Linked DNA regions of Homo sapiens: regions 1, 2, 3, 4, 5 and 7 are each linked to region 6. The links are contacts of gene promoters, found by promoter capture Hi-C in blood cells and fetal thymus (Javierre and others, 2016). All regions are on one chromosome and are shown on one strand. Each heading gives the region's core, a stretch centred on a gene start or on the middle of the fragment in contact. The rest is flanking DNA. Distances are from core to core; before and after follow the strand shown. Region 1 holds the start of KRT34 (keratin 34). Region 2 holds the start of KRT15 (keratin 15). Region 3 overlaps KRT32 (keratin 32). Region 4 holds the start of LOC105371778 (a long non-coding RNA gene). Region 5 holds the start of KRT35 (keratin 35). Region 6 holds the start of KRT28 (keratin 28). Region 7 holds the start of KRT38 (keratin 38).

The links. Contacts are between HindIII fragments. The CHiCAGO score rates a contact against its expected background, and 5 or more counts as called.
Region 1: a contact is called between the fragment with the promoter of KRT34 here and the fragment with the promoter of KRT28 in region 6, in 6 of 17 cell types (M0 macrophages, M2 macrophages, M1 macrophages and 3 more). The highest score is 9.4, in M0 macrophages.
Region 2: a contact is called between the fragment with the promoter of KRT15 here and the fragment with the promoter of KRT28 in region 6, in 3 of 17 cell types (M2 macrophages, M1 macrophages and M0 macrophages). The highest score is 7.5, in M2 macrophages.
Region 3: a fragment that was not itself captured here is called in contact with the fragment with the promoter of KRT28 in region 6 in 2 of 17 cell types (M1 macrophages and M2 macrophages); the score reaches 5.9 in M1 macrophages.
Region 4: a contact is called between a fragment that was not itself captured here and the fragment with the promoter of KRT28 in region 6, in 3 of 17 cell types (M2 macrophages, megakaryocytes and erythroblasts). The highest score is 5.2, in M2 macrophages.
Region 5: the fragment with the promoter of KRT35 here is called in contact with the fragment with the promoter of KRT28 in region 6 in 6 of 17 cell types (M2 macrophages, M0 macrophages, M1 macrophages and 3 more); the score reaches 11.2 in M2 macrophages.
Region 7: a contact is called between a fragment that was not itself captured here and the fragment with the promoter of KRT28 in region 6, in 1 of 17 cell types (neutrophils). The highest score is 5.6, in neutrophils.

Annotation. Positions count from the first base shown.
Region 1 is chr17:41,379,960-41,383,919 of GRCh38, reverse strand. KRT34 (keratin 34) reads left to right here and starts at 1,614. Exons shown (of 7, transcript NM_001386014.1): 1 at 1,614-2,021; 2 at 2,125-2,207; 3 at 2,708-2,864. The coding sequence starts at 1,674. RefSeq lists an enhancer at 1,422-2,621. The HindIII fragment of the contact is 8,651 bases long and covers 1-3,960 here.
Region 2 is chr17:41,517,275-41,520,731 of GRCh38, reverse strand. It overlaps KRT15 (keratin 15), which reads left to right and starts at 1,842. Exons shown (of 8, transcript NM_002275.4): 1 at 1,842-2,402. The coding sequence starts at 1,905. RefSeq lists enhancers at 503-1,502, 3,207-3,457. The HindIII fragment of the contact is 23,808 bases long and covers 1-3,457 here.
Region 3 is chr17:41,459,889-41,463,791 of GRCh38, reverse strand. KRT32 (keratin 32) reads left to right here. Exons shown (of 7, transcript NM_002278.3): 6 at 742-962; 7 at 3,553-3,903. The coding sequence ends at 3,682. Among named protein-coding and RNA genes, the nearest start is that of KRT32, 5.5 kb to the left of the region's middle. RefSeq lists an enhancer at 3,600-3,903. The HindIII fragment of the contact is 8,593 bases long and covers 1-3,903 here.
Region 4 is chr17:41,350,625-41,354,522 of GRCh38, reverse strand. It overlaps LOC105371778 (a long non-coding RNA gene), which reads right to left and starts at 3,026. Exons shown (of 2, transcript XR_001753056.1): 1 at 2,920-3,026; 2 at 725-2,101. It overlaps KRT33A (keratin 33A), which reads left to right and starts at 3,695. Exons shown (of 7, transcript NM_004138.4): 1 at 3,695-3,898. The coding sequence starts at 3,756. The HindIII fragment of the contact is 650 bases long and covers 1,535-2,184 here.
Region 5 is chr17:41,479,606-41,483,173 of GRCh38, reverse strand. It overlaps KRT35 (keratin 35), which reads left to right and starts at 2,023. Exons shown (of 7, transcript NM_002280.6): 1 at 2,023-2,547; 2 at 3,393-3,475. The coding sequence starts at 2,077. The HindIII fragment of the contact is 10,492 bases long and covers 1-2,192 here.
Region 6 is chr17:40,797,764-40,801,480 of GRCh38, reverse strand. It overlaps KRT28 (keratin 28), which reads left to right and starts at 1,522. Exons shown (of 8, transcript NM_181535.3): 1 at 1,522-2,037; 2 at 2,482-2,564; 3 at 3,090-3,246. The coding sequence starts at 1,588. LOC105371776 (a long non-coding RNA gene) reads right to left here and starts at 147. Exons shown (of 4, transcript XR_934753.2): 1 at 1-147. RefSeq lists an enhancer at 2,344-3,543. The HindIII fragment of the contact is 3,919 bases long and covers 1-3,258 here.
Region 7 is chr17:41,440,716-41,444,164 of GRCh38, reverse strand. KRT38 (keratin 38) reads left to right here and starts at 3,182. Exons shown (of 7, transcript NM_006771.4): 1 at 3,182-3,449. The coding sequence starts at 3,244. RefSeq lists an enhancer at 3,026-3,449. The HindIII fragment of the contact is 1,658 bases long and covers 1,301-2,958 here.

The sequences.
Region 1 (3,960 bases), core at 365-2,864, 580 kb before region 6:
TTATTGGGCAATAGAGAGGCTCCCTAGGTTATGCAAGAGTCAAAGGGTAACTGGATCCCAGAGGTGATAGAAGCACACTTATCAGAGACAGTGTCTACTTGTAGGGACAACAGAGTAAATCTGCATTCTCATGGGCACTGTGGCTTGTCCTGGAAGCATCTCAGGCTGGCATAGTCATACCTCTAGGAGAGTTAATACTCTAGAAAGAGGAACAAGTCTAGAAATAAGATGATAGAAATTTCCAGAGAATTTGAGAAAAAGCCACCATGGATACAAAGATACCTCTGAGCACCCTTGCTCCAATTTTCGTTTCTTGGTGAGTCTGCAGTATTATGCTTCATATTCATGCTTCAGTGCTGCCATCTGAACTCTCACTGCTCCAGACTGTTTCCAGCATATTTTTTCTTCTAGATATTTCTACTCTTGCTCATCTTTAGAGAGGCTGTTGCTTTAGTACAAGTTGGCAAATTTTTTAATTTTAGGGCTTTGTGGACACTATAGTCTCTGTCACAACTACACAACTCTGCCACTGTAGCACAAAAGCAGCCATATACAATAGCTAAACAAATGGGCATGGCTGTGTTCCATTAAAACTTTATTTACTGCCGGACGCATTGGCTCACGCCTGTAATCCCAGCACTTTGGGAGGCCGAGGCGGGCGGATCACGAGTTCAGGAGTTCAAGAGCAGCCTGGCCAACATGGTGAAACCCCATTTCTGCTAAAAACACAAAAATTAGCCGGGTGTGGTGGCGGGCACCTGTAATCCCAGCTACTCGGGGGGCTGAGGCAGATAATTGCTTGAACCCGGGAGGTGGAGGTTGCAGTGAGCCGAGATCGTGCCACTGCACTCCAGCCTGGGCGACAGAGTGAGACTCTGTCTCAAAAAAAAAAAAACAGAAAACAAACAAACAAAAACTTTATTTACAAAAATTCAGCAGGGTAAACTTGACGTGTGGGCTGCCATTTGCAGATGCCCTCTTTTAGGTATACTCCCATCCATTCCATTGGTTTCCATTTTACTTTCTCATTTCTCAACCATGAACATGCCATTGTTTTCAGTTGCTCCATGTGTTGGCAAGTTCCCTAAACCCCAACGAATAGTAAGGCTCAGGATCATTTCGGCGAATACAGGTTGAGTTTCTGCTATAAAAACAAATTGAATGCTGAAACATGGATGAATGTGGGAGGAAAGAGCTACTTGGAAGAGTAACTCTCAAAGCTCTCTCTCAGAGCTCTCTCTCTGGGGAGAAAGAACAGTGGCGGAAACTCCTGGGTGAGGAATCCCTGATTCCCAAACAACTCCACCCCATGTCCCTGGCTGTCCTCCCCTCTGAGTAATGCAGACAGCCTTTTGGGGCTGTGATGATTCTATCTCCTATGAAGCCATCTGATGAAACTCTGATTTCACCAACCACTAGCACCCAGGAAGAGCCTGGTGTGACATAAGCTGAATGGAATAATTTTATGGGTTGAGGGGGGACTCTTTAGAAGCATCTAACTAGCATATTTTGGAGAAAAATTAGCTGAAGCATTAGGAAAGGAAACTATGCTGTATGCCAAGCCCCCACCCACAATTAATGGTATAAAAGGACTGCAGAGGAAGGAGAGACTCAAACCTGCCCACATCCACCTCCAGCAGCTTACCTGCTTTTCCATTACCTGTTCCAGCACCATGTCTTACAGTTGTTGCCTGCCCAGCCTGGGCTGCCGCACCAGCTGCTCCTCCCGGCCCTGCGTGCCCCCCAGCTGCCACGGCTACACCCTGCCTGGGGCCTGCAACATCCCCGCCAATGTGAGCAACTGCAACTGGTTCTGTGAGGGCTCCTTCAATGGCAGCGAGAAGGAGACTATGCAGTTCCTGAACGACCGCCTGGCCAGCTACCTGGAGAAGGTGCGTCAGCTGGAGCGGGACAACGCGGAGCTGGAGAAACTCATCCAGGAGCGGTCCCAGCAGCAGGAGCCCTTGCTGTGCCCCAGCTACCAGTCCTACTTCAAGACCATTGAGGAGCTCCAGCAGAAGGTGAGGGGGTTGGCCATATGGGGGGCCAGCAGCAGCTGGCTCTCTTTGAACAGTAAGACATTTTCAAGTTCAAGTGTACCTCATGAGAGAAATTTCTTTTCAGATTCTGTGTGCCAAGGCTGAGAATGCCAGGCTGGTGGTGAACATTGACAATGCCAAGCTGGCCTCTGACGACTTCAGAAGCAAGTATGTTGAACTTCAAGGTCCCTATGGTTCTTTCATGGCCCTAGGGACCTACTATTGCCTGGAAGAGAGGAGAAAGCCATTTCTCTCTATTTCTCCTCCTAGGGCTGGTTATGTAAAATTAGTTTCAAATAGGGAACTAGACTCATGTGCTGCCTGCTCTTTGGTCTATACTGGTTTTTTTTGGAAGTGTTTCTTAAACCACAAAATTCAGAGATTGAAATGAATTGTTCTTTGGGAATTGATTTGGTGGTATATTAGCTAACAAAACCGAGAACACAGTGAGAGACTTCATCTCATGTGTGCCTGTGGGCTCCTCGTGGTGTTAGGTGAGTCAGGGAACCTCTTCAGCCTATCCATGGACAGCTTGACTGAAGCATATGGAAGAGAAGAGGCAGAAAACTGTAAGTTCAAGAAGATTCAGGCCAATTCTACCCAAACAACACATGAGAGGGGAAGGTGGTTTTCTTTCCTGACTTATCCTCCCACTCCGACACGTGCAGGTACCAGACGGAGCAGTCCCTGAGGCTGTTGGTGGAGTCGGACATCAACAGCATACGCAGGATCCTGGATGAGCTGACCCTCTGCAAGTCTGACCTGGAGTCCCAGGTGGAGTCCCTGAGGGAGGAGCTGATCTGCTTGAAGAAGAACCATGAGGAGGTATGAAACAAATTCACAAAAGCAGGCCTCAGAACTAAGCTACTAGCACTGGGAATCAGGAGAGGATTACTGTCTGGATCCCTGGTCTGGGACCCTTCTCTGAGGAACTCAAGATGTTCTCAGAGAGTGACGGTGCTACATCCATATCAAGGAGTGGAGTGAGCTGCTCATTCTTCAGCGGCTGGGTGAGGGTTAGGCAGGTGTTGGAATTACTGAGGAGGGACATCATTCATTGAGCCCTGCTCTCTGCTGATCACTGCTAGGTCCTGAATTTGGTGGTGGAGATGGAGGGACAAAAAAGAAATAAGACATGGCCCTTTTCTTAAAAGAGCTCACAGTCTAGTATAGAAAGACAGTCATATAAACACAGTGATATAAACAAGACAGAGTGAAACAAGTACCATATGAGATGTACAAGCAGTATGCTCTAGAAATAATCCAGGCTGCCCAAGAGGAGATAGGGAACTCTTCTCAGATGCAAAGAGGAGGATTCCAGTACTTGGGTGTTTCAGTCTGAGGGAAGAGGTTGAACAAAGACACAGAAGTGGCAGGGCAGGGTGTATCTGGGTATGGCTGGGCATGCAGTACCTCCAAGGGATGAAAGTGAAGATGTGATGGGAAGCGAGGAAGGACTTGCATATGCCAAGGAGTTTAGACTTAGTCTTGTAGAAGGTGTGAGGTTGTTTCCGTTTCTATGGGACAACAATTGACGTGATCCCTGTTGGAGTTTATTGCTATAAAATGTGTGTGTCACTCTTTGGGAATGATCAGAATCTTCCTTTTAGTGCTTTTTTTTTTTTGACGGAGTCATGCTCTGTCACCAGGCTGGAGTGCAGTGGCGTGATCTAGGCTCACTGTAACATCCGACTCCCTGGTTCAAGTGATTCACTTGCCTCAGCCTCCTGAGTAGCTGGGATTACAGGCACATGCCACCACGCCCAGCTAATTTTTGTATTGTTAGTAGAGATGGGGTTTCACCATGTTGGCTAGGATGGTTTCGATCTCCTGACTTCGTGATCCACCTGCCTCTGCCTCCCAAAGTGCTGGGATTACAGGCTTGAGCCACTGTGCCCGGCCCCTTTTAGTGCTTTCTGGG
Region 2 (3,457 bases), core at 593-3,092, 720 kb before region 6:
CCACCTGGCACAAGTTGCTTCACCTCTCCAAGTTTCAATTTCATTCTTTCTGAATCTTGGGTGGGGGTCACCCTCTGTTGTGAGGATGAGAGGAGGTGATGGATGCAAAAGTGCTTTGTAAATCACAAAGTGCAGGGTAGAAGTAAAGGATTATGCTATTATAGCAAAATAAGAACCTAAGAACAACCTGCGTTGCCCCATAGGAGCTGGCTATGGAAGGTCGATGCCGTTGAGCCTAAGAACATGCTCAGGCTCACAGGGCATGTTCTGATGCCCAACGACAAAGCCCCTCCTGGTGAGGGCACTCAGGCGCAGGTGCCGGTCATGCACCCTGGCCCCTGCATGTCTGGCACCTGGGTGGGGATCCAGGAGGGGGCAGGATGGGGGCTCTTGGGCCACAGGGCTTCCCTGGAAGTGAGAGTTGAGAGCGCCCCTTGCCACAGGGAAACAGAGACTTAAAAAGGTAAATGTCCACAGTCTTACCATGGTAATTGGTAGGGTCAGGATTTGAACCCAGGCCTCACAGTCTTACCATGATAATTGATAAAGCCAGGATTCAAACCCGGGCCTGAGGGACTCCAGAGCCCTGTCCACTTCACCATGCTGCAACCTGGGCTAGGAATCCTCCTCCTGAGTTTCTGTAAGCCCTGGGGCCAGGTCCAGAGGGCTGAGCCACACCTCCAAGTGGCACTGCCCACAGGTATCAGGTGTCCCTGGAAAGGTGTCCCTGAGCTGGTGGCAGAGAAAAGGGCTCTCCTGAGTGTTCAACTCCCCGTCTGTGTGAAGCAATGCCTTGGTCTTCAAGATCTCCGGTGTCTTCCAGCCTGCCTGCCAGTCTCCCTTCTCTTCCCTTCCACAGCATTCAGGCACATAGAGCCTTCTGCAGCGGCCCGTCCCCAGCCAGCACTTGACAGGACAGATGGGGGCTAATCTGGCCCTGCTAAGCAGCGACATGCCTCTCCTGGAGAAGGCAGGGGCTTCCTGGAACTTGCCCCAGCCTTATCAGCGGAGGTTTGCCCCAACACATCCCAGAAACGAGCAAAGGTTCAGCGCCGTGCAGTTGGCAGGTGTCGGGATCATCAGTCATCCCCTTGTCAGTCCCAAGCCTGCTGGGCTTTTGTGAGGGTGCCAGGAACACAGGCTGGAGGATGGCAGGAGGGGAGTAGAGGTGGGAGGAGGGGAGTCCATCTGCAGCACCAGGTAAGGGGATGGATGCTGGCTCCTCTGGTCACCTCAGCTGGAACACTACTCAAGGTCCCTGGCTCCTGTCCTCCACCTGCCCCCAGGGGCCCTGCATTCCCATCCCCAGGGCCTCCACTCTCCCTGAGCCCTGCAGTCTCTCACTCACTCACTCACTCACTCATTCACTCACTCACTCACTCACAGGGTTTTGAGTTGGATAACACAGCATAATGATCGGCCAGTGGACTCCCAAACTAAGAACACGGAGCTGTCCTCTTGGGGAGAGGCTCAGGGCTCGGGGAAGTGAAGTCCAGCTGAGGGCACAGTTGGCCTGAGCTGCTCTCAGTACAGGCAGAGGCCTTGGTAGCTGTGCTGTGATGAGAGTTCGCTCCCTGCTGCTCTCTTCTGGCATGGAGAGATGAACCTGTAATCCAAGTGTTAAAACCGTGCCCTGGGGAAAAACACTATTAATTCTGAATCATCTCTTTTGTTGCATTAAAAAAAAATAGAAGAGAAAAACTTCACATGACCCACTCAAGGTGTGCAGGCAGCTGTGTTTGTCAGGAAGGCAGAAGGAGTTGGCTTTGCTTTAGGGGAGGAGACGAGGTCCCACAACACCCTCTGAAGGGTATATAAGGAGCCCCAGCGTGCAGCCTGGCCTGGTACCTCCTGCCAGCATCTCTTGGGTTTGCTGAGAACTCACGGGCTCCAGCTACCTGGCCATGACCACCACATTTCTGCAAACTTCTTCCTCCACCTTTGGGGGTGGCTCAACCCGAGGGGGTTCCCTCCTGGCTGGGGGAGGTGGCTTTGGTGGGGGGAGTCTCTCTGGGGGAGGTGGAAGCCGAAGTATCTCAGCTTCTTCTGCTAGGTTTGTCTCTTCAGGGTCAGGAGGAGGATATGGGGGTGGCATGAGGGTCTGTGGCTTTGGTGGAGGGGCTGGTAGTGTTTTCGGTGGAGGCTTTGGAGGGGGCGTTGGTGGGGGTTTTGGTGGTGGCTTTGGTGGTGGCGATGGTGGTCTCCTCTCTGGCAATGAGAAAATTACCATGCAGAACCTCAATGACCGCCTGGCCTCCTACCTGGACAAGGTACGTGCCCTGGAGGAGGCCAATGCTGACCTGGAGGTGAAGATCCATGACTGGTACCAGAAGCAGACCCCAACCAGCCCAGAATGCGACTACAGCCAATACTTCAAGACCATTGAAGAGCTCCGGGACAAGGTGAGTCCTCGGATGTCAAAGAGAGGGGAGCAGGTGGCTGGTACCCTGTACACAGCTCTAATGTCAGTGTTACTGCTGACTCAAGGAAATCCTTTCCTGCCCAGGCAATGACTGTCTGGTATGTAATCTCAGCAAATTTGGAATGCACCTGCTGTCCAGGTGCAGAGGCCAGTGCACATCTTCTCAACTTGGTGGTGCTGGGGGAGGGAGAGAGGGGTCTTGGGAATCTGGTTAGGACCAACAGGGGCACAGGTGGGGGCAATTATAAAGAGCCAGAGGCAGTAGCTCACACCTGTAATCCCAGTGCTTTGGGGGGCCAAGGTGATAGGATTGCTCGTGTCCAGGATTTAGAGGCTGCAGTGAGCTATGACTGTGCCACTGCACTCCGGCCTAGGTGACAGAGTGGAACCTGTATCTAATTAAATAAAAATAATTAAAAAAAAAGAGCAACTCGCCCTCCCTACCTCATGCACCCTGCAGGCTTCTGCATAAAGTATTCCTTTACCTCTTTTGCAAGAATGGGATTGGAGTGTGGCCTCATGAGTTCCAGATGCTAGAACCTCTTGTCTTTTCCTATAAAGAGGTCTTTTGTGCCAAAAGTACTGTTGGGTCTTAGGAGACCTGGGAACTCATTACACATTCTGCCACCCACTCACTCACCATTTTACTCCCTAAGACTGGGTTCCTCATTCGTAAAATGCCTTCTTAACTGCCCTCCAGGTTGCTACTGGCTGGAATGTTCTGTAGATCCATGGCTGTGTCCAAGGTGTGCAGGAGGCAGTGACCATGAGTTGTCCACAGTGGGGCTGGTGGAGTGTCTCTGAGAGAGCTATTGTCAGAGCTGGCTGCACCCCACTGCCCCACTCTCCTGGGCAACCAATTCCCACAGGCAATACTGCCTCCTTGGTCTTTCGTGCCCTGGAGATAAGGAAGGCAGCTCCTCAGGTGTCTCAAGGAGGCTGGATGGGACAAAACAAGAAATGGACACTGAAAGTGAGGCTGGACTTTGCCCACCCCAGAAGCCGTACAGATTTTTGTTGGTGGTGTCAGAGGGG
Region 3 (3,903 bases), core at 460-2,959, 660 kb before region 6:
CATCCTGATGCCCAGGTTCTTTTCTGGACCAACTGAACCAGAGTCTCTGGAGGTGGGACCTGATCACAGCTATTTTTTTTTTTTTGAGATGGAGTCTCACTCTGTTGCCCAGGCTGGAGAGCAGTGGCATGATCTCAGCTCCCTGCAACCTCTGCCCCCGCTGGGTTCAAGTGATTTTCCTGCCTCAGCCTCCCAAGTAGCTGGGATTACAGGTGTGCACCACTATGCCCTGCTAATGTTTGTATTTTTAGTAGAGTGGGGGTTTCACCATGTTGGCCAGGCTGGTCTCGAACTCCTGACCTCAGGTGATCCACCTGCCTTGGCCTCCCAGAGTGCTGGGATTACAGGCATGAGCTACTGTGACCGGCCAGCCATGGGTATTTTTTGAGGGCTCCCATGTGGCGCTAATGTGCAGCCAGGTTTGAAAACCCCTGTTCTAAATGATGCCGGCAGGGAGGTACTTGGGAAATCTCAGATCCAATCCTGAAGGCAGACAAAGGTTGCAGAAGAAAGGAGGGATTTAGGATCAGATTTACGAACAGAAACTGTGGTTCCATAATGTACCAGCTGTTTACCCTTGAACAAGTCATTTGACCTTTCTGGGCTTCCGTTTCCAAAGTGACTGGTGTAGGGAGGGCTCATTTCCAGCATCAAAGGGAGATTTGGCTCTTCTTGGTTCTTTCTGAAGCAGGCCATGGTAAACAGCTCCCTTCCTCATGGTTATGTCTTCCTTTGCCTTAGAGGGACTCCCTGGAAAACACGCTGACGGAGAGTGAGGCCCGCTACAGCTCCCAGCTGGCCCAGATGCAGTGCATGATCACCAACGTTGAGGCCCAGCTGGCTGAGATCCGGGCTGACCTGGAGCGGCAGAACCAGGAGTACCAGGTGCTGCTGGACGTCCGGGCCCGGCTGGAGGGCGAGATCAACACGTACCGGAGCCTGCTGGAGAACGAGGACTGCAAGTACGCAGGCCCAGCTGAGGCTTAGAGAGACGTGGGCAGGGATTCTGGGAGGTTATAGGAAGCAACTGGATCTACCCTTGAGGGACCATCAGCTTAGAACCCTGTCCTGACTATGGAGCCATTAAGAAGCTGGTATGCTCTGAAGGAAGTCAGGCAGTGGTGTTCATGCTGCCATCCTGAACCAAGCCCCTCGGAGACCATTCTATCTCATTCCAAGCTGGCAAGCTCCTTCTAAGTGCCCACCATGGGGCAGGTGCTATGGAGGACACCAAGATAGAGGAAGACAGGGCATTTGCCCTCCTGTCATTTCCATATGTTTAGGGAGATAGGCAGACAGGTGACTGGAGGTCATGGCCTGTCCAGAGCTTAGGATGAAAAGCAGCTTTATTAATAGTACCTACACAATCCTGCTCCCACCTCTTACCCCAGCCTCACCTCATAGCTCCATTCCTCTCAGAACGGAGATTTTGGCATGTCAGCAGGACAATAGGTAGCCTTGTGTAATTGAGCCCTGGTGGGGAGCAGGACAGGAAAGATCAGCCGGGGCCCATTTATGGAGAACAACACGGGTCATACTGGGAAGGGAGGGCTTTAATTTATAGGTGAGTGGAAATTGTTTTGAGGAGGAAATGAGAGAATTTACTGTGTGTCTTCTCCACTAGATGGTAAACATCTAGAATGCAGAGACATTATAATACAATTTTATTCCCTGTACGTGGCACATAGTAGATGCTCAGTAAATGTCTCTCAAGCTCAAAGCTGTTCTTCAGGAAGATGGCCCTGATAGCAGCAGGAAGAACTGAGTAGAGGGAGGGGAACCAGGCAGGGAAACTGTCCAGGAGGCCCTGGCCACAGCCTAGGTAAGCAATAGGGAGGGCCTGAGTTAGGGCAGCAGAGGCATCAGCTCTAGACACTGTGCAGGTAGAATCAGCAGGACTTGGTGGCTGTCTGAATGCAGGGTACCTCTGGGCCATGGACACCCAGTGGGCTGACGACTGTTGTAGCTGTTTCTTATTCCGCATTTGGCATTGCTTCTCCATCATTCAGAATCTATAACTTCAGGGCAAGTGTTGTGTCAAACATTTGCAAGGACCAGGCCATTAACATGCATGAATGACGTGGGTCATACGGAGATGGTAGAAAAGCAGAAAGCTCTTGCCTTGTCCAATCCAGGCAATGGCATGCCCTCAGGGCCACTTCTACTGTGTGAGAAGCAGGTCCAATATTGCTGATCTTCCAATAGTTCCAGGGAAGCTGAGAATCTGGGTTTTTAAAAATGTTAAATTCTCCTGATTCTTAAGTATTTTCAAAAAATTAAAGAAAATATATAGTGCCAGGCAAATGGAACACATTTCAGGTTGCACATGATCCTCAGGCCTCCCATTGGTTCTCTGAGCTACTGGGTTTCCATCCAGCATCCAGTGTGTTGTTCCTGGTTTTGAGTGCATGCCTGTCAGTCTCTGAGATCATCCTTTTTCCTTTCACCATGTATTAATTCTTCATTCATTTATTGTTTTGTCTGATCCAAATATTCTTATTAGGTGCCTATTCTATGTGAGGTATGCAGGGTGGGCATGGGTCTGTGGCTGCTGGCCTCACTGCTTGGCCGGGGAGACAGACCATAATAGAATGATTACTACTCACGATGAAAGGAGATACATGTACCATGGGGGCTTTGTCTCAGAGAGGTGGGGGAGGCTTCAAGGAGGACGTGAGAGTTGAGTTGAGCTCTTAAACAAGAGAAGAAATGTAGGTGAGTGGAGAGGGAAGAGGGTTCCAGAGATGTACGGCACAGGGCACAAGCCCTGTGGCCTGAGCAGTACAGTCCCTGCAGGAGCTGGAAGAAGGTCAGAGTACCTGCAGCTCCCAGAGCAATGGAGCTATCAGGTGAGGCTGGGGCAAGAGGTGGGAGCAGGATCATGCAGGTCCTATTAAGGAAGCTGCTTTTCTTTATTTTATTTTATTTTACTTTAACTTCTGGGATACATGTGCAGAACGTGCAGGTTTGTTACATAGGTGTACATGTGCCATGGTGGTGGTTTGTTGCCTATCAACCCGTCATCTAGGTTTTAAGCCCTGCATGCATTAGATATTTGTTTTAATTTTCTCCCTCCCTGCTCCCCTCACCTCTCGACAGGCCCCAGTATATGATGTTCCCCTCCCTGTGTCCATGTGTTCTCATTGTTCAACTCTCACTTATGAGTGAGAACATGCAGTGTTTGGTTTTCTGTTCCTGTGTTAGTTTGCTGAGAATGATGGCTTCCAGAGGAAGCTGCTTTTCATCCTGAGCTCAAATGGAAGCCACTGAAGGTTTTAGGGAGGGGAGGGACATAATTGGATTTGTGACTGTAGAAGATTGCTCTGGCTACTAAGTGGACAGTGGTTAGGAGGGGCCCAAGTGGGGTTGGGGAGATCAGTTAGGAGGCCATGAGGTGACTCAGGCAAAGATGGCGGAGGTTGGGACCAGGGAGGCTGGGCAGAGAAAGCACGGAAGATGGGGTTGAGAGGCATCCGAGGGGAGAATTGGCAGGACCTGTGGCCGAGTGGGCCTTCTCTACTAATCCTGTTTCTCTTTGACTTTCTCCTGCAGGCTGCCCTGTAACCCATGCTCCACTCCTTCCTGCACCACCTGTGTGCCCTCCCCATGCGTGCCCCGCACCGTCTGTGTGCCACGCACTGTTGGCATGCCTTGCTCACCCTGCCCCCAGGGCCGCTACTGAAGTCCCTTTGTGCCAGTGGATCCTGGAGGGCCTGGGGCTGGGCAGCCTGGTATTCAGTGGCCACCAGAAGAGCAGGGCCAGCCCCGGTCAGCAAGGAAGACCCTGAGCAGGACCGTGGATCACCTGCAACAAGCTCTGATACTCCAGGGGATACTTAAGCCCTCATCACTTCAAAACTGCCTCTTTTTTCCATGGGTGAACTGTTCTCTTTGGTGATGTTT
Region 4 (3,898 bases), core at 610-3,109, 550 kb before region 6:
TCTTGGACCATGGGCTAGCAGTCAATGGCAGAATGTTTCTCCAAGGGTTACTCCTCCTTGTCTTCTCCTTCACCCGAAGCTCAGACCTCATGCCAGTCAATTCATGAGCTATAGGTAGCTTGATTTCCCTTCATTCCTTCTTAGTAGCTCACCTTTGGAATGGACAAAGTCAGCAGATATCACAAGGGCATGAATGCCGATCACAACAAAGACTTTATTTCTAGAACAGGCTCAAGTGTAATGTAGTAATTATATTGGAACAGGAGCCTCCTAGGCTTTTTTTTTTTAATAACTCATTGTTCCTCTAGAAGATTTGCAAGAATTTCCTTCTGAAATTTTAAATGTAAATTTTATTTTGTTTATTGTGCAGAAGTAACATATATTTTCAAAGAATTTGGAGAGAAGAAAAAAAACATTCATAATCCTGTCATTTAATAGCATCCAGTGTCATTGTGGTGTGTTTTCTTTAATCTCTCAATTGTCCCCATTTTAATAATAGTTTAATTTTGTTGTGACTATCTTTTGTGTACCTTACTCTGGATAAGCATATTGCTGTCGAGTAGGGTCACCATTGTTTGACCAATTGTTCTAAGTTGCTCCAAACAGATGGGATATAATCTATATCTGATGGGATATAATTATGTTTAAATTACTCCAAATTGTTGGTATATAATTGTATCATCAACTTAGAAATAATTGAAATCAGAGAGTTAACAAGAAACTGTACTATTGCTGAATTCTATCTTTATTTACACATTGACTCATAATTCTTCTTCAACACAGCATATCTATGGTTAACAAGATGTTTTTCTCACTGCCCTTGATTTCTGTCCTTAGGTAATAACAGATCAGATTGTTTGTGAAATTCTTCAACATTTCAGTAGAATGGTGATTGGGCTGATAATGCAGTGGGAATCAGAAGATCTGGGTCCTAGCTAGATGATACTAAGCAAGGCATTTCTCCATTCTGAGCCTCAGTTTCCCCTTCGTAAAACGAACGGTTTGGATGAGTTGACCATTAGGATCCCCAATATCTTGTTCCAAGATTTTCCCTCTCTCTTTTAACCATTTTCATATTTAGGATCTATGTTAGGAGGTAAGAGGGAGGAAGAGAAGAGCCAAATGCAAAGCCATCTGGTTTTTGGTCTGTAGCTGTAGCTGGGAGGCTTGGAAGCTGCTTGGATTGGTAGCTGTAGCTGGGAGGCTTGGAATCTGTTGTCTGCTTTATCCTCTGCTAGCAAGGACATAGGAAGCCCCTCCTCTTTCTGGCCAATGTATGCCTCCTCAGGCCCATACTTGAATTTTTTCCTCATTGCCTCTTTAGGATATCAAATAAGGCTCATCTTACATCTTGTGACAAAACAGAAGTGGTGTCATATGCACGGTCAGTTCAGATTACTCATGCTTCTTGGATAATTGTTCCTAAATAATAAACTATTACGAATCATCAAGTTCAAACAAGTCTGGCATCTGCGTAAAGCCCACTCCAATTATTGTATAAAAGTCTGTATTGGTAAGATCAAAGCTCCAAGCTTAATAATCAGATATATAAATTTATTGCAGCAGAACTTCTCTAAGTAATGAACATCTCAATTCTGTGTGTTTGAAGTCTTGGTTTACCGAAGTTCACTGTGGGCATTACTTTAAGAATGTGCACAGGCGCTGCGTACAGCAGGCATACCTGTGTGACCCTGGAAAGGTCCTGGTAAATTTCTGGTCAAGGCAGCCAATACCCTCTCCATGGTCCTGATCATGTGCGGCCCCTTTGCTGCACTTGGCACTTCTAACATCACCTCCTCTTGGAAGCACCCTCCTTCCTGCCCTTCTGGGATGCCATGAACTTGTTTTTATCATTTTTTTCTCACCATTTCTCCATTTATCACAGATTCTTTTTCCTTCTCCTGATCTCTGATTGGGAAATTCTCCAAAGTTTGGTCCTCAGCTCCTTGTTGCTCTTCTCTTTGTACTCTCCCTTGGCCCAGTTCTCTAACTCTCTCACTTGTACTAAACCTTATCTGTATCATCATCCCTGCCATAAATTCTAGTCTTGCATGGACTGTTGCAATAGTCTCTTTGCTGAACTCTTTGCCTCCAATCTTTCCTTCATTTTTCAAAAACAGATAAATATTTGCTAAAACATTTCCTAAAACACCTTTTGTCACACCACACTTAGGTTCAAAAGCTTATACTGGCTCTACAGCTTCTGGGGAAGTCCAAGCTGCTCCACTTCACCATCGAGACCCCCTACCATAGGGTCCCCATACAATCCCCCATAAAGCTTTAATTTCTAGCACTTCCCTTCACAACTCTCCCCTTCCTGCTGCCTAGACTTACCCTGGTCCTTCAACCATGCCTTGGGCTTTCCCACCCCATTCCTGTGTGCACATTATTCTCCTCACCTGCACTTCCTACTTTTCTCCCCTCTGCTTCTTAGAAGCCTCCCTATCCCAGCACAAATCCATTCATCCATTCCTAAGAGCCTCCAATCCTGGAGCTGCTCGCCCTCCCCAGTGTGTAAACCACTCAGTTATCACTTGTCAACTTCTGCCTCAGATTATTATTTCCTGTTCATCCCTTCATCACTCTACCCACACCCATTCAACAGTGCCTACCAGGTGCCTAGAGCTGGGGATTCAAAGACAAACTAGACCCTGCCCTTGCCTTCAGGGACCTCAAATAGAGACAGAGAGACAAGCACATAAGTCATGACAGTGTCATGCTCAAGGTAAAAAGAGAGCTTGGAGAGGAGAAAGGGACGGCCTGTCTGAAGAAGGGAAGGAAGTAAGCCATTTATATTTAAGCCAAGTGTTGTGATGAAAAGAAAAGTGATCTGCTTTGGAATCCTAGGTCCACAACTTATTATCCTCACCCTCTATGCCTTGGTGTTCTCATCTATAAAATGGGAATTATACAGTTTACCTTTAAGAGTTCTGGTGAGGAATAATGGACATCTAAGTTCTGCATGTTTGAGGATCATGTTTGTAAAAAGGATCTAGTTTGTGAAAAGTGTCCACACTACCTTGGGCTTGTGCAGTTTCTTAACAAGTAAGAACTTCTTCTGACCATAGCATTGAGTCCTATTTTCCACCCCTCCCAGTGTCTATTACATCGCCCTGGATGAAATTGTCATAGTGGATATCTATTATTTGGTTGATTGACGTCATCATGGACATGAAAAAAGCCCATCATATCAGGAAACATGGCCATCAGGAACTGTCCCAGAAAGGATCTATTCCTCTTTCTGAGAACCATGAATTTGGAATTTGGCACTTGGAAATGTGACCTAGCAAAAGACACAGGGCAAGAGCTATGCTTTTCCATTTCACCAAGGAGAGCCAGAGCTTGCCAAAGAGTTAGGGGCCTCAAGCCACAAAGCAGAACAGCAATACTGTCTCTTGACCTGCTGCACCCCACTGAAGAAGGCCAGGGCTTTCATGAGTCCAGGTCTTTGAAGTCACACCATGAAGCTCTTACATCATGACACACAGCATGGAAGAGGAGTCCCGACTTAGCGAGAAGCCCAAGTAAAGTATTTTATGAGGGGAGAGACTCTTCTGAAGAAACACAACAAATGGAGGGAAGGGCTTTTGACAATCACCAAATGAGCAAAAAAAAAAAAAAAAAAAAGGGGTTGTCTTACGTGTCCACACCCTCCATGGACGAGGTATAAATGCTCCCTGGAGGAAGGAGACCCACCGCTCTACAACCTGGAGATTTTGGACTCTGTCTTCAGCTGGACACTCCCTCCCTGCACCATGTCTTACAGTTGTGGCCTGCCCAGCCTGAGCTGCCGCACCAGCTGCTCCTCCCGGCCCTGTGTGCCCCCCAGCTGCCACGGCTGCACCCTGCCCGGGGCCTGCAACATCCCCGCCAATGTGAGCAACTGCAACTGGTTCTG
Region 5 (3,568 bases), core at 774-3,273, 680 kb before region 6:
AGGGGCTGGTTAGTCTGGACAGGTGCTGCTCACCTACACAGAGATGCCGGATCCCCTTCCATCTCTGAGTCTCAGTTTCCTCATTTACAAAAGTAGGAATAGTAGGCTGGGTGTGGTGGCTCATGCCTGTAATCCCAGCACTTTGGGAGGCTGAGGCAGGCAGATCACGAGGTCAGGAGATCGAGACCATCCTGGCTAACACGGTGAAACCCCGTCTCTACTAAAAATACAAAAAAAAAAAAAAAAAGAAAAATTAGCTGGGTGTGGTGGCGGGCACCTATAGTCCCAGCTACTCAGGAGGCTGAGGCAGGAGAATGGCGTGAACGCTGGAGGTGGGGCTTGCAGTGAGCTGAGATCGCACCACTGCACTCCAGCCTGGGCAACAGAGTGAGACTCCATCTCAAAAAAAAAAAAAAAAGAAGTAGGAATAGTTAAGATTGACTGTGTTTTCCTTTCCCCGCTCCCTACTCTCTTTTGTTTCCTCCCATTCTTTCTTTCCTTTCTTAACACAATTCACCGTGGGAAAAATCACTTAATTAATTAATTAATTCATAGACATCTAGAAGCCCTGCACTGTGCTTAACACTACAGAGATTTAAAAAAAAAGTACAAGGTCAATCCTTGCCCCCATGCTTACAGTCTCCCTGGGAAAATAGGGCTGAAACACAAGACAATCAGAAGACGTCAGTTAATTGGAGGCCAAGAAATCTACCAATAGTCACTGCCTTGGGCATTCAGAGCTGGGAGGGCACAGCAGGGCTGGAGCAGGGGCCAGACTTCGGGGGAAGGCCTGGCCAGGACTGGGCCCTTAGAGGCAGTGGGGTGGGCCTGTGGTTTGGAGCTGCAAGGCCTGGGCTTTAGCCTCCCTGGGAAGCCTGTGTGGACCTTGGGTAAGCCATTTTCTACTCTGACCATTGTCTCCTTCTGTAGGAGTCAGCACCTTTCTATCCACGACTGTGTTGGAGGGTGTGTGTGAGGCCTTAAAGAAGATAGCATGCCTTGAACAGTTGTACAGATGCTTTTTCAGCTGTGATCTGGGACAGGCTCCTGAAACAGTCCAAGCCTCCTCTATTTAATGGGCTATTGGTGATGCCAATCTCATGAGTTTGTGTGAGGACTGAATAAGAGAATGCATAGAGACAGATCAGCGTGGGGGCTGGTGGGTACTAAATGCTCAGTGAATGATGGTTGCTACCATCAGCCGGGTTATTGATAGGGCTGTGTGAAAAGAGCTCCAATTCAGGCAGCCAGAAGGAAGGGCTTCTCCATTTCTCAACCAGGGCTGGGGAAGACATGCCCTCCTAGATGTCATCATGGGCAGGTGTCCAATTAACTGATCTCTAGGCATTGTGGCTAGAACTTAGGCTCTACAACCTGCACAGACTTCCTGGCAAGGGAAAGAGTAGGGAAGTGTCCATCAGGGCTCTGCAGTATCTAGGGTGATAAGCTGTCCCATTTTACCGAGGACTGAGGTTTCCCTGGCATATGGAACTTTCGGAACTAAAGCCAGAAAATTCCTGGGGAAACCAAGAAAATTGGTCACCTTAGCCATATTTTCTGGGCCAATTCAAGAGCCTTCTGTGTCTCCCTGGCTGCAAGACCCCTGCCTTCCTGCACCAACCAAGTTTACCCTTCCATCTTCTGGGAGCACCCCAGAGACCTCCTCTACTCCCTCAGGCCAATAAAAGAAGTCAAAGTTGGAGAAAGTCAAGACAGTGGCTGAACTCCCATGCTTGCTTAATGCGGAGGCTGAGGTCTGGGCTCAAATGACAGGTCCCTTTGAAGAACTGACAGGGACTTGGTCTTCCCAGTGATGTGGGGTGGTGGAGATGAGTCTTGACATAGTAATGGGGCTCCTATTTTATGAGACTGGTAAATTTTCACAGGAAACTAAATAACAGGTTAATGAGGGGTTTTAATAGAAAGTGGTGTTAACTTTAATGAGGAGAAAACACTTTGTAAAGGCCAACCAATGCCCACTGGGGCAGAGATATAAATCTGGGGTAAGGAGCTGCTTCTCTGCTTTGGGGTGTCTGGCCTCAGAGACCTATCAATTGCATCTGAGTTGCAGGGGCCATGGCTTCCAAATGCCTCAAGGCCGGCTTCTCTTCTGGGTCTCTCAAGAGCCCAGGAGGGGCCAGTGGGGGCTCCACTCGTGTGTCCGCAATGTACTCCAGCAGCTCTTGCAAGCTTCCAAGTCTCTCCCCTGTGGCCAGAAGTTTCTCTGCCTGCTCAGTGGGTCTGGGCAGAAGCAGCTACAGGGCCACCAGCTGCCTCCCTGCTCTCTGCCTCCCTGCTGGAGGCTTCGCTACCAGCTACAGTGGGGGTGGGGGCTGGTTTGGGGAGGGCATCCTCACTGGCAATGAGAAGGAGACCATGCAATCCCTGAACGACCGCCTGGCCGGCTACCTGGAGAAGGTGCGTCAGCTGGAGCAGGAGAACGCCAGCCTGGAGAGCCGCATCCGTGAGTGGTGTGAGCAGCAGGTCCCCTACATGTGCCCTGACTACCAGTCCTACTTCCGGACCATCGAGGAGCTCCAGAAGAAGGTAAGAGGTTCAGAGTGGCTTTGGATTCCCAGGAACTTTGTGTCACCAGCATTCATTGGTAGTTCTGTTCCCATAGGGCATGTTGGAAGTCACCAAGCATGTTCATCTCTGTGGCCTCATTTGCTCCTCCCAATAACCTTAAGAGGGAGGTATCATTAGCCCATTATACAGTTGAGAACACTGAGATTCAGGCTGGGTAAGCGACCCAGATGGCAGTTACTGGAGCCAGAGCTTGAACATCAGGTCTATGAATGAACTCTGTGACCTTTGGTGGTATTGCCCAATCCTCTGAGTCTTCTGAGTTTTCATTTCCTCTTTTATTTAAAGTCAGGGGATTGGGTTTGATGTATTTAGTGCAGTGCAGTTCAGGCTTCCCATAAGTAACTCAGGGAAGAAAATGCCTGTCAGAGAAGTTTCTTTCTTGCCAAGGGCCCATATCCACTTCTCGCCTGGCCCAAAGTTATAGCTGGCTCCTGTGAGGGACCATTTATGACCAGAGAATCCCGGGGTATGTTGTTGGCAATGAAATGCCCTGGGCCCCCAGTAGGCCTGGGAGACAGGGAGATTGGAAGAAGCCTCATTTCATCATGCCAGGCCTTTCCTGTTGCATTTTCATGCAGCTATCTAACCTGAGTAACAGGTCACAGATACACTGCACTGGAAGAAACCCTGGACTTTCCATAGTTGATCCCTAGAGCCTGCCCATAACACTCCAATGCACATGGAGTAGCAGAGGTCTAGGATGGGTGACTTCCTCCTTCCAGAGTCAGCCCTTGTCAGCTTTAGGGAGCTCCAACAAGTGGAATGTCCTTTCTTGCAATGAAATAACTTCTTCATATCTCCAGACTCTATGCAGCAAGGCTGAGAATGCCAGGCTGGTGGTGGAGATTGACAATGCCAAATTGGCTGCAGATGACTTCAGGACCAAGTGAGTTGTCCTGCTTGTCATGTGGTTGGGGGCTGCTAGAACTGGACACAGGTGATGCCTGAGCTCAGGGTTTTGGCTGTACTCTGTCATTGG
Region 6 (3,717 bases), core at 273-2,772:
GGACTTTGGTGACACCTGGAGTTGTGCCTACTTTAAAATTCTAAATTCTGGTTTCCACTATCCAATTTTAGCCTGTCATCCTTCACCTTTATCAATCTCCTCCTCACACTCCGCCTGCTCCATGACCTCATAAGGATACCCAATGACTCACCCTCTGCCCTTTTCTTCAGTCCATCTGTCCCTCTGGTTTTACTTTCTTCTTGCTATATGATCATACAGTCAATCGCCTCAATTGTTTTCTCAAGAACACCAGAAATTTCTTTGCCACTATTTCCTTCTTCTGGACCTGTCTTCAAATCCCAAAACCCACATCAATCTGATCATCATCCTTTCTATTCCTGCACCAGGATTACTTCCAAATATGCAGTTGAACATCATTATAAATGAGAGCTGGACCCTCCAATTTTCTTTTACTCATTGCTAGTCAAGTATTTTTCCAGTTCAGTATACATATTCTAAACAGTCATTCTTGCTATCAGTCACCTTCATCTGGAACATTCTGGCAACCCCTCAAATCCAGTTGGTCCAAACCTAAACTCAGTGTCTTCCTCCTCCTCTATTCCCCATCTCAGTGAATATTATGAGTTCCCAGAATCTAAAATTAATTACCTAAGAGTTATCCCCAATTCTGCCTTATTCCCTACTCTCCAAATTCAATCATATTACCATATGCTCTCAAAGCCATCTTCTCTGCATCCCCACTGCCTTCATCCTTCTCACCTGGACCATTATTCCAACCTTGTAATTGACCACCTTGTTTCATTTCAACCTGATCATTTTGCCCTCTGCTTTTTACTTAGGATTCATTACAAACTCTTTAGACCAGCACAGAAAGCTAACCATGATCCAGCCCCTGTCTGGACCTGACAATAGATTTCTTAAAGATTGTAATCACGCATTTTTCACTTCTGCATTTAGTTAACACTATGTCTTTCATTTTAGCACTTAGCATAGAGCACCAAACATCATAACCATGCTATTTTAAACAAAATAATAGGTCAATATTTGTGTCATTGTCCAAGATAATAAATAGATGTTATAATCATGGTAAGAACAGAGATGTCACTAGCCTCTGTTTTCTAAATAACACATTTTTTTCTGGTGGGATAAAATATCTGTTTCTGTAATTAGCAGTCCTTTATACCCCTCCATGGTAATTGAGACCCTACTGTACCTCACAGAACTCTATCATAATCTTACTTAACTTTATAAAAAATTTGATAATACCTGGCGCCAGATAATGACAGTATATGCCTAGGGTCTAGATGAAAGGAAAGGATTACTCACTCAAAATTAGAAGTTAAATTAATAAACTTAATATAGAACAAACCCTATTATATTTAAGATAAGAAATAGCCCAAAGCAACACCGAGGGATGTTAGACATTAATTATTTTTAAAATCACCCAATTATACATAATTTTATGCTAATCTAAGTGATGCCATTTTGCTTTTGGCATGTATAACTCAAATAGGAACGCCCCAATAATGATATATAAAAACCCAAAGAAATTATCAGTGCATGATATTCTGTTCTCTTGGGACATTACAGTTTTGCATAGACAAGGTGAACATTTCTCAAAACACCATGTCTCTCCAATTTTCTAATGGATCCAGGCATGTTTGCTTAAGGTCTGGAGCTGGATCTGTCAGACCCCTCAATGGAGGTGCAGGCTTTGCAGGCAGCAGTGCATGTGGTGGCTCTGTTGCTGGAAGTGAATTTTCCTGTGCCTTGGGAGGGGGCTTGGGCAGTGTTCCTGGTGGGAGCCATGCTGGTGGTGCCCTTGGAAATGCTGCTTGTATTGGCTTTGCTGGAAGCGAAGGGGGACTCCTCTCTGGAAATGAGAAGGTGACCATGCAAAATCTTAATGACCGCTTGGCATCCTACCTGGATAATGTGCGAGCTCTGGAGGAGGCAAATGCTGAATTAGAGAGAAAAATCAAGGGTTGGTATGAAAAATACGGACCTGGATCTTGCCGTGGACTTGATCATGACTATAGCAGATATCACCTAACAATTGAGGATCTTAAGAATAAGGTGAGAAATCACAGATTTGGAACTAACCCAAGTATTTAAAACTAAGAAATACCTAACAAAAGACATACAATAAGAAATGCTTCATGACTGTTATAACTTGTATTTATTTATTTAGATAAACAATTCTTCCTACTATTCAAAAATGGGCCCTTTGATTCATGAATTTTAATGTAGTTAAAATGTTATTAGTTCCATTGTTTATGTTGAAGTACATTCATAGGCATATGAATAAAAAAGTATTGTAGTTCTAAATTTAGGGGAATATATGAGAATAAATAAAACCATGTCTTTAATTTTTAAAAGTTAAACTTGAAACATTTTGATTATTACATAAGGAGGTGAAATTTTTATGCAAAAACTTGAGTAACCTTTTTCATTTCCTGAAATAATGAATCACATAAAAGCATACTTACTTGTTGTGTTCTCTGTTTTGGTTTATTCTAGATTATCTCCTCCACTACTACTAATGCTAATGTCATTCTGCAGATTGATAATGCCAGACTGGCTGCTGATGATTTCAGGCTAAAGTAAGTGACAGAAGAAAATCCTGCTCTAGAAAAAAGTTTCTATTTATTTAATTTGTTAAATAAAATTTCTATTTCATCCCAAGTAGAATGAACTATCACCTAAAAGATAAAAGGAAGCAAAGGATTTGTATTATAATGTTACAATCAACTTATACATAGTTATTATATTCCTGGGACAAAATATCAATATATTTCTCTGCCTGCCTAGAATACTGCCAAGCACAAAGTAGATGCTCAGTAAATCATTAGTCAACTAAGGAAAAACGTTAACTAAAATAAAATTCCAAAATGGTGTATTTTTATTTAACTAGGTTATGCTATTGGAATTTGTGTGATGAAATAACTTCCAATTATCCTGTACAGAATTGAGTGGGGGTAATGCAGGAGCGCTTTCTTCATATATTTTTATACTATTTACAGTCCTAATTCAATTTCTAATTTTCAGTTTAAAGCAATTGGGATTGAATATTTCTGTTTCTTGGGGTAGTCTTACTGGCACTGAAATTCACTTAAATGCCCCCCAAGGTATGAAAATGAGCTCACCCTTCACCAAAACGTAGAGGCCGACATCAACGGATTACGGCGAGTCCTGGACGAGCTGACGCTCTGCAGGACCGACCAGGAGCTGCAATATGAGTCTCTGAGTGAGGAGATGACATATCTCAAAAAGAACCACGAAGAGGTAGGAGAAGCTTTACCTGTAGTCCAATCACAACTCTGTACATTTTAAATACTGGGCAGGGGTTGGGGGTTAAAATCACAATAGTAATTCAGGTTCATTGTTATAATTTGCCAACGGATACAGACAGATTAGTCTAATAATACTACCTACTACGAGGGGATGTTAAAAGGCTTCAATGAATTAATACATATCACACGCTCAGAACAGTGCCTGGCCTATAATAATCACTCAATAAATGACAGCGGTCATCCCTAGGATGAATGCCTATGAGGGCCAGGATTTCAGGATTTTTTCTACTGTTCTATTCCCATCAACCTGACATTTAGTCAGTAACTATATGTTGAGTAACTCTCCGGTCTTTAAATCCCTTTCTCATTTAAAAGAATAAATTACTTCTCTTGGGGTGCTATGACTGTTTTTGGTGGTGGTGGTAATTTTAATTAACAGGTCCCTAATTTTTTTTGTTTGTTT
Region 7 (3,449 bases), core at 880-3,379, 640 kb before region 6:
CTTGCCAGGGCAGGGTGAGCCTCCTGAGCTACTCTCCAAGTGGGTCGATTGCAGTGAAGCCTGGAGCAGCAAATGATGCCATCAGAGGCAGGTGTGAGGCTCACAGGTCCCAACGCACGGGCCCCGGTTTCTGTGCCTATGTGCAGAGGTGGAAGCTCGTGACTGTCATCCACAGGAGAGGATAGGACTTGTTTCCCACACTCATGCCAACACTGTGTGCTATTATCCAACTTAGCAAAACCTGATAAGAAAACAATATCTCTTTAGTTTGTATTTCTTAATCACAAATGAGCATACATTCATATATAGATAAAATCATATTTAATTTGAACAGAAGTGTACCTTTTCCATTCATCAAAGCCTCAGGAGTTGGATACCTAGAATAATACATTTATATGCTCAGCCTCTTCTCTCAAGAGTCTTCATGGTTTCTTGATCTAGGATTGTTTGGGACACCATTTTCTAACACCCTGGAGATGTGGCAGCACTAACTCTACATATAGTACTTGTCATAAATCTTTGCATTCACTGCAATGTGTGATGGGTGACGTTCCCACACAGGGCACAACTCCCTAGATGCCTCCCTGCATCTTCCAGCAGTAGGAGCCATGACACAGAAAAGATAAACTTTGAGTTAGGCACAATCTCCAGGTGCTAGCCTACAGCTCCATACCTTTCTCTCCCATTGGTTGAGATATGCCCCTATGTATCAAAATTAGTGAAAATGGCATTCCAAGACCACAGCTCCTCACCTCCATTTGCAGTAGACTTCATGCCTCTAGAGATCGGCATGTCTAAAGTCAGAATCCACACAGAGAATGTTGTGCACACAGGTGAATGAAGGAGGGCAGCAGGCTCCCATCTCTCACACTCTGTATTCATCACTTCTTGTTACTGAACCTGGCCTCATATTCGGTCACCAGGGGCCACAGGGACTCTTTTTAAAGGGTTGGGAAGGAAGAGAGTCTTAGGATCCCCACCCGCTCCTTCACCTCCTTTGAGAAAATACAAATCAGGGGAACAAAGCGATTTTACAAAGAGCCATGCAACATCAGTATCATTATGCAAAACAGTACAAGGTAGAAGCCCAAGCCAGGACCCAAGCCAGTTGGCAGAGAGGGGTGTCATCTGGACACACAAGGCTTCAGCAGTGATGAGTCATGTATTGTGAATGGACGAAATCGTGGCTTTTAGTCCATGGAATGAATCTGGGCAGAGGATAAAGCCAAAAGATGGGTGCTACTTAGCAAATCAAAGGAAATGACTTTAAAAGCCTGGCTCTCTGATTTATAGAGAAGCTTGTTGCTATGTGATGAGGCGGAGGAGAGTAACAAAAGGGTGTTTGAAGATGTAACATATGCAGATTGCACCCAGTGGCCTCTGGAGGATGGGACAGCCTGCCCTGGTGATGTCTCCCAATGATGTTGTCTGTAAAGGGTTATGGATTGGTGAGCTCTGAATAACCCTTAGGTCAGCGCTCACTACTACTTACTTTCCTGAGAAGCCCAATCTGGACTGAATTCTCAGATTCTGTATTTCTTCTTGATAGAACTCCAATAGCCTGTGTTTCACATATGCACGTCTGATCCCTATAGAGGTGTATGTTCAGCTTTTGTTCAATGCTCAGGGGACTGGCAAAAACTCATTTTCCCAAAATTCTAGTTATAATCACTTTGGATTGTTCCACATTAGGTTTTTCTTAGTCTCAGGGGTCTATGTATCTTCTGTCACAAATTTTGGGAGAAAAGTTTTGGGATCTCAGCAGCCATGTGTCTTGGATCCCTAGTACCAAGAACTATCTGAATGTGGAATGTGTAATATAACCATTTTAGGGACAGGACTTTCCCCTGGCATCTTCTGATTTAGCCCTTGGAGAAACTCTGTTTTATTGTATGAATACCTCCACATCTGTATTTTCTGAGATACAAAGGGAAAAATACACAATGTCAGATTTTTGTTTTACATCTTAATTTCAACTTCTTGCCCGGTTTCTAGGAATTTGAATCCTTCTTAGTTCTAGCAATGACACAGTAGTTATCCTTGGGGTGGAGGATTTGGAGGTGGTCAAGGTGAAGAAACAGTTTCTGGAGTTGAAAGAAGCTGATGTTGAGAATAGGCTTTATACTTTATAGTGAGGTTGATCTTAGAAAACTGTCCTCAATGGCTTGTTTATTTATTTTGTAAAATTAAGAGTACCCACCTCCCAGGTTGGAAGTAAAGATTAAAAGGTATCATTGCTCAATCCCCTAGCTCATAGGGTGAAGGCTCATGACTGACTTTAGAATAAAGGAAGCAAGGTATGAAGAGAGCCCACAGAGGCTCTGATCACTCAATGTCCTTTGACTTTCATGACCAAGTTCTTATTTGAGGTTCAGTAAGATTATTGCTCATTTCTCTTTGTTTATTTCTGGCTTCTTGAGCTTGCCCTTCTTGGTCGAGATAAGCCATGGTTTTTGGAGTCATCCTCATTTTCATGAGCTTCTCAGATACCTTGTTTGAAACATCACGTCTACCCAAGTTACAGTTGTTCCCCAATGGCAGGAACTATTTTGTGCTTAACCAACTATATATCAAGCATCAGCAAGGTGCGTAGCATATGGGACGTAGCCAGGGGATGTGTTTTGAGTGACTGGATTCATCTAAGTCTTGTTGCTCCTCAAAGTGAGTCTGAAAGGCAACCAACTAAAGAAAGAAGAAATGTAGGACTTCTTGATAACCCAAGGCCATAACATCCACCAATTCCAAGACTCAGTTTCTTCCCTGGATAGGGAAGGCTGGTTGAGTCTTAACCCAAGTGAGAACCATTGTCATCACCGGGGTTAGTCCTCCTGCTACACCACTGACCAACAGGAAAGTTTGTGTCTCCAGAGTGGACACATCCATAAAGAGGCCAAACCCAGTCAAGGTCTAAGCATCTGATGGCTATAACTTTGCTTCTTTGAAAGATAATAAAAAGCTTCTGACCTCCCATCAACAGCCAACCTGATTTCAAAGAGCCAAGAGGCCTCAGATTCGTCAACATTCCTTTAACGAGCTGAGAAACTTTTCATGGTAAACTCAGCAGCTGAGTAACAGGATGATGGCACCACAACAGGTAGATAATCAAGGCAGGAGGTCAAAGCATTGGAGCCAACACCCGCCCAGGATGGGGTATAAAAGGGCTGGGAGGAGAGGAGGCTTCAGTCTCAGTGGTTCAGCTTTCCCAGCTGATCTGAAGCTCCTGTGCAGCCTCAGCCCAACACCATGACCTCTTCCTACAGCAGCTCCTCATGCCCTCTGGGTTGCACCATGGCTCCTGGAGCAAGAAATGTCTCTGTCTCTCCCATCGACATTGGGTGCCAGCCTGGGGCAGAGGCCAACATTGCCCCCATGTGCCTTTTGGCCAACGTGGCACATGCCAACCGAGTCCGTGTGGGGTCCACTCCCCTGGGCCGCCCCAGCCTCTGTCT